2 separate regions of the Homo sapiens genome follow, and region 1 is linked to region 2. Evidence: promoter capture Hi-C in human tissues and cell types (Jung and others, 2019). All regions are on one chromosome and are shown on one strand. Each heading gives the region's core, a stretch centred on a gene start or on the middle of the fragment in contact. The rest is flanking DNA. Distances are from core to core; before and after follow the strand shown. Region 1 holds the start of LOC105372244 (a long non-coding RNA gene). Region 2 holds the start of CREB3L3 (cAMP responsive element binding protein 3 like 3).

Region 1 (3,592 bases), core at 221-2,720, 850 kb after region 2:
CCTGTAATCCCAGCACTTTGGGAGGCTGAGGCAGGCAGATCACGAGGTTAGGAGATCGAGACCATCCTGGCTAACACAGGGAAGGTCTTGCCAGCCTTATAGGTCACAGGGAGGCTTTGACCCAGAGGAAGGTGGGAGCCTTGGAGTGCTGTAGGCAGAGGAGGGACAGGCCCTAACTCGGGTGCTCACAGCCCCCCTCTGGTGGCTGCTGCAGGGAGGACAGACTGTGTGGCAGAGGGTGGAGCCTAGGACCAAGGCAGAGGCAACTGCGCCAGGTCCAGGTGGGCAACGATGGGGCTGGACCCAGGCAGAGGAACAGGAAGAAGTGAGCGTTTGAGGATGGAATAGTGAGGGCAGGGGCGACAGGACCTGCTGATAGATTGGAGTTGAGCAAGAAACAAAAGATCCAGGATAGCGTTGATATTCGGCTCCAGCACCCGGAAGAATGGAACTGCCGGGCCGGGCGCGGTGGCTCACGCCTATAATCCCAGCACTTTGGGCGGCCGAGGCAGGCGGATCACGAGGTCAGGAGATCGAGACCATCCTGGCTAACACGGTGAAACCCCGTCTCTACTAAAAATACAAAAAATTAGCCAGGCGTGGTGGCAGGCACCTGTAGTCCCAGCTACTCGGGAGGCTGAGGCAGGAGAATGGTGTGAACCCGGGAGGCGGAGCTTGCAGTGAGCCGAGATCGCGCCACTGCACTCTAGCCTGGGCGACAGAGCGAGACTCCGTCTCAAAAAAAAAAAAAAAAAGAATGGAACTGCCATCAGCTGAGATGCAGACGACGAGGGAGGAGCAGGATTGGGGACCAAGGACAGAGTGTTGTCCTGACTAGCAACCCCTTAGCTGTCAGAGATTAGGGCTGAGTTCATTTGAGGCTTTGATGGAGGACAGACAGGCAGAGAAAGCTCAGACCCTTGTCCCCAGTCATCCTGCATGGGAGCCCCTGCGACCAGAGCCGGGAGCTGTCCGCGACCCCCGGTGCTGAAGCTCCCATTCTAAGCAGGAACTCCGGAGCCCCCGCTGGAGTAAAGTGTCTGACATGTAGTGAACGCTCAAAACGTATCCCTGAATTTCACCCAAGGTGGCAAAGCGATTTCAGCGTCATCGTACTGCGCTGGTTTCTATGTCCCGCACGCCCCAACCTGTACTTTACGGATATGCAAACTGAGACCATGAGAGGTTGCTGCACCTTTAAAAATCACGCAATGCATCACTTTATTATTATTATTATTTTTTTTGAGACGGAGTCTGGCTCTGTGGCCCAGGCTGGAGTGCAGTGGCACGATCTCCACTCACTGCCACCTCCGCCTTCTGGATTCAAGCGATCCTCCTGCCTCAGCCTCCTGAGTAGTTGGGATTACAGGCACTCGCCACCACACCCGGCTAATTTTTGTATTTTTAGTAGAGACGGGGTTTCACCATATTGGCCAGGCTGATCTTGAACTCCTGACCTCGGGTGATCTGCCCTCCGCGGCTTCCCAAAGTGCTGGGATTACAGGCATGAGCCACGGCGCCCGGCTACGTAATGCATCACTCTTGACGTCACAATCAGCTAGGCTCTGAAGACAAATCCGAGTTCAGGCTGTGGATTGGCTGATCCCTCATGAATATGTAGATTACTCTCACCCTTCACCTCGCTCTGGTAGGTTCAGAAAAGTGAGGGGGTGGAGAGGAGGCGGGGCTGGGGGCGGGGCTGGAAACTGTTCCTGTGAGGGTTGGGGCAAGTAGTGGGGCGGGGCCAGGGACTATGGACGTGGTCAGAATTTTTGTACATTTCGTTCCCTGCCTTCTCCCCAGTACCTTTCTACAACAGCTCCTAGTACCCAGTAGGTGCTTCATAAATGTTTATTGACTCTGGATTCCAGTAGGAGTGATGCCTGAGAGTTCACTTTTCTGACCGGGGAGAAGGTCCTATTTTGCCTATAATGTGATAGTATCATTGGTATCATTCATCTTGATCTGCCCAGTTCTGGATGTTTGCATAATAACCTGAGCCCAGGCCGGGCGTGGTGGCTCACGCCTGTAATCCCAGCACTTTGGGAGGCCGAGGCGGTTGGATCAGGAAGGCCGAGGCGGGCGGATCAAGAGGTCAGGGATTCGAGACCAGCCTGACCAATATGGTGAAACCCTGTCTCTATTAAAAATACAAAAATTAGCCGGGTGTGGTGGCGCGCACCTGTAATCCCAGCTACTCGGGAGGCTGAGGCAGCAGAATCTCTTGAACCTGGGAGGCGGAGGTTGCAGTGAACTGAGATCGCGCCACTGCACTCCAGCCTGGGTGACAGAGTGAGACTCCGTCTCAAACAACCAACCAAAAATTATGTGTATACACACACACACACACATACACACGTATATATACATATATACACACATATACATTATATGTATATACACACATATGTATGTGTATATATATATATACACACACACACACACACACACATATATATATATATATCTCATGAGCCCCGTCTTACAGATGAGGAAACTGAAGCTTGGAGAGAGAATGCAAGGCTTAAGGGCATGCATGTCTTAAGTCAATCAGCAAATATTGAGGACCCAGAGGTGAGGAACTCCAGCTCCCTTGGTCGGGACTCAGCTCCTATTTGGCCCTCAGTTTTACCCCCACACATCCTGCTTCAGTCCTCTGTGTGGTTTCGAGGCCACAGTTGAGGGGCTCTCTGTTTTCTAACTCGGACCTAGGTAATTCCTACTTTTTTTTTTTTTTTTTTTTTTTTTTTTTAGACGGCGTTTCACTCTTGTCGCCCAGGCTGGAGTGCAGTGGCGCAATCTCGGCTCACCGCAACCTCCGCCTCCCAGGTTCAAGCGATTCTCCGGCCTCAGCCTCCTTAGTAGCTGGGATTACAGGCATGCACCACCACACCCGACTAATTTTGTATTTTCAGTAGAGACGGGGTTTCTCCATGTTGGTCTGGCTAGTCTCGAACTCCCGTCCTCAGGTGATCCACTCACCTCGGCCTCCCGAAGTGCTGGGATTACAGGCGTGAGCCACCGCGCCCGGCCAGTAATTCCTACTTCTACCCCCACCTTTGCTAACGCCATGCCCTGGGCCTAGCAGGTCACGGGTGTCTCCATCCCAACCCAGCATCTCCGACCTCCAGGGTGGGAACAGAGTGTTCCAGGCTAGGGAAACCGCACGTGCAAAGGCCTGGCAGCCAAACCACATTCAGTTACTGGAGAGAAAAGGGGAGGAGGAGCGGGGCCGACCTTGCAGGCTAGAAAGTTTGCACGGGGCAACTTTTGCGTCCCAGGAGAGAAGCCAGGGAGTCCCCTCACAGTCTCCCTCCGAGCTCAATAAATCTTGCACATTTCAAGCCAAGGCACAGAGCCTGAAAGAAGGCATGGGTTTTTGCTGCCCCCTGCTGGTCGCTGGAGCGAAAGCATCCGGAAAGTAATTTTAAAAAAAAGTCTCATTCTGTCGCCCAAGCTGGAGTGCAGTGGCGGGAACTCGGCTCACTGCAACCGCCGCCTCCCGGGTTCAAGCGATTCTCCTGCCTCAGCCTCTCGAGTAGCTGAGATTACAGGTGCGCACCACCACACCCGGCTAATTTTTGCATTTTTA
Region 2 (3,344 bases), core at 123-2,622:
TCGCCCAGCTCCACGTGTCTCAGGATGCCGTCCTGCCGGTCAAACAGGAGATCCAGGAGCTCAAAGCTGTCGATGGGGTCCATGGAGCAGGCAGCAGAAGCCATCTGGGGCGCGAGGAACAGATGTGAGGGTCACATACAGCCCCTGTCCTCCCCACCTCCCATGTGCACATAACCCTGGCTCTTTCCGGCTAGAGTTCAGTTGCCGCTCTGCCTCCGGGTTGGGCCAGCTGCTGCCCCTCGCTGAGACTCCCTTTCCAAATCTGGACTTTGAGGCTGATAGAGAGAATTCCACAGTGTGAGAGCCAATTTCTCTTAAAGTGCTGGAGAGGCTGGATGTGGTGGCTCATGCCTGTAATCTCAGCACTTTGGGAGGCCGGGGCAGGAGGATCACTTGAGCCCAGGAGTTCAAGACCAGCCTGCGCAACATAGAGACCCCTATCCCTACTGCAAATAATTTAAAAAAATTAGCTGGCTGCGGTGGCACACACTTGTCGTCCCAGCTACTGGGGAGGCTGAGGTAGGAGGATCCCTTGAACCCAGGAGGTTGAGGCTGCAGTGAGCTATGGCCACCCCACTGCACTCCACCCTGGGTCACAGAGCAAGACCTTGTTTCAAAAAACAAAAAAGTATGGCAGGCACGGTGGCTCACATCTGTAATCCCAGCACTCTGGGAAGCCGAGGCGGGCAGCTCACCTGAAGTCAGGAGTTTGAGACCAGCCTAGCCAACATGGTGAAACCCTGTCTCTAGGAAAAGTACAAAAATTAGCCGGGCGTGGTGGTGCACACCTGTAATCCCAACTACTTGGGAGGCTGAGGCAGGAAGATCTCTTGAACCCAGGAGGTGGAAGTTGCAGTGAGCTGAGATCGTGCCATTGCACTCTAGCCTGGGTGACAGAGGGAGACTCCATCTCAAAAAATAAAAATAAAAATAAAATAAAATAAAATAAAAAGTGCTGGAGAGAGGCCCTAGCTAGAGATGCCGCTTGCCTCTCAGGCCTTCACAGCCTCCCCAAGTGCCCGCTCCTAGGAGGCAGGGGGACCTGGAAGAAAGACAAGGGCAGCCCCGGGGCAAAGGCACACAGTTTTGCTCATTGCATCCTTTCTCTGGGCCTCAGTCTTCCCATCTGTACAATAGGGGTGGAGATGGGGTCCTTCCAGCTCTGGCAGCTTGGGTAGGCTTTCCCAGCCTAGACTCCCGCTCTCCCTGGGGACCTAGTAGGGCTCACCTTTCCAGCAGCTAAATCCGTATTCATGGGTCCATCCAGTTCTGTCTGCAGATGCCTCGGGGGGTCTCTGCTCCAAGCTGGAGGCCCACCCACCGCCAGCGTTACCTGGGGCCGGGCAAGCTCACAGCCCTCTGTGGCTCTGTCACCACTCCCAAAAGATGCTGAAGCGGTCACAGGCAGCTCCCAGCCCACCTCCAGGTGCTGATTGGTGGACAGGGTGGAGAGACAGGGTTGAGGGCCAGTGACACTGGGGCAGGCAGGAGCAGGGGAGGGAAGACCGTTATCTGGGTGTTTTGTGGTTTTCCAGCCCTCAGTGAGCAAAGGTCGAAGTCTGGGGTACCTCCACTCTGCCGTGACCTCTGCCCTACTTATGAGGACTTTTTCTTTTTTTCTTTCTTTTTTGAGACGGAGTCTCGCTCTGTGGCCCAAGCTGGAGTGCAGTGGTGCCATCTCATTTCGGCTCACTGCAACCTCTGCCTCTTGGGTTCAAGTGATTCTCCTGCCTCAGCCTCCCGAGTAGCTGGGACTACAGGTCCCCATCACCATGCCCGGCTAACTTTTGTATTTTTAGTAGAGACGAGGTTTCATCATGTTTTCCAGGCTGGTCTCGAACTCCTGACCTCGTGATCGGCCCCTCAGTCTCCCAAAGTGCGGGGATTACAGGCGTGAGCCACCGCACCCGGCCAGTTACAGGACTTTTTCTCTTCAGAATTCCCAGATGGGTTCTGGGATAGCCCAGGGCCCTTACATGGGTCCTGTCCACTCCCTGGACAGAAACAAACCAAGAGGACCAGACCAGATCTTCACTGAAGCCAGTTTTCCTGCCAGCAGCTAGCGGCTCCCATCCTTCACCCCACCTGCCAACCTCCGGCCCCCAGCCCCCTCCGAAACCAGCTTGGACTCCGCCTCTGAGTCCCCATGGGTGATTCTGTGCAATCAATTCTCTCTAGAATCTTCTATCGTTCATTGAGTCAACAAATATTTATGGAGCCAAACTGGTTCCTGCTTAGGGCCTTTGCACCTACTCACCTGCTCGCCCCTCTGCCTGGAACTCTCCTCTTGTACCCTCCCTCTTCCCCTCTGGCTCTAGGTCACTGTATTGACATTTTAGTGAATGTTCGATATTTGTGAATCAGCCCGGGTGGCTGAGAGGTGTCTCTGACCTCCCCTCCACCCCCTACCAAGAGAGAGGAGCCCTGTTTTGTTTTTTTGTTTTTTTTTTTGGTGTTGGTGGAGGACAGGGTCTCACTCTATTGCCCAGGCTGGAGTGCAGTGGCAGGATCATAGCTCACTGCAGCCTCCAACTCCTGGGTTCAAGTGATCCTCCCGTCTCAGCCTCCCAAGTAGCTAGGACTGCAGGCGTGCACCACCACACCTGGCTAATTTTGTTTTTTTTTTTTTATAGAGATGGGGTCTTACTGTGTTGGCCAGTATGGTCTCAAACTCCTGGGCTCAAATGATCCACCTGCTTCAGCCTCCCAAAGTGCTGGATTTACAGGCATGAGCCACTGTGCCCAGGCAAAGTCCCCCTTTAGCAGATGACATATTAGACCAAGCGTGGTGGCTCACATCTGTAATGCCAGCACTTTGGGAGGCCGAGGTGGGTGGATCACCTGAGGTCAAGAGTTTGAGACCAACCTGGCCAACATGGTGAAACCCCATCTGTACTAAAAATATAAAAATTAGATGGGTGTGGTAGCACATGCCTGCAATACCAGTACTCGGGAGGCCGAAGCAGGAGAATCACTTGAACCCAGGAGGCGGAGGTTGCAGTGAGCTGAGATCACACCACTGCACTCCAACCTGGGCGACAGTGAGACTCTGTCTCAAAAAAAAAAAAAATGACATGTTCAGTGCAGTCCTGAAGGATGAGATGGAACTGGCCCTGGGAAGGTCTGGGGAAAGGTGTCCCAGGCAGAGGCACAGTTTGTGCAAAGGCCCTGAGGCAGGTCCGTGCCTAGCGCATTGGAGGAACAGCAATGAGACCCCTGTGGCTGGAGCAGAGTGAGGAGAGGAAGACAGGCAGGAGAGGAAGACAGGGAGGAGGGGAAGGCAGGGAGGAGGGGAAGGCAGGGAGGGGACGGGGCAGGTCGTGCAAAGCCCTGTGTGTTGTGGC

Evidence for each region. Contacts are between HindIII fragments. The study calls those that stand out against the background at their distance.
Region 1: a fragment that was not itself captured here is called in contact with the fragment with the promoter of CREB3L3 in region 2 in 2 of the 25 tissues and cell types used here (aorta and spleen).

Annotation. Positions count from the first base shown.
Region 1 is chr19:3,304,905-3,308,496 of GRCh38, reverse strand. It overlaps LOC105372244 (a long non-coding RNA gene), which reads left to right and starts at 1,595. Exons shown (of 3, transcript NR_187753.1): 1 at 1,595-1,648. The HindIII fragment of the contact is 7,399 bases long and covers 1-3,592 here.
Region 2 is chr19:4,151,659-4,155,002 of GRCh38, reverse strand. It overlaps CREB3L3 (cAMP responsive element binding protein 3 like 3), which reads right to left and starts at 1,372. Exons shown (of 10, transcript NM_032607.3): 1 at 1,229-1,372; 2 at 1-104. The coding sequence starts at 1,255. The HindIII fragment of the contact is 37,156 bases long and covers 1-3,344 here.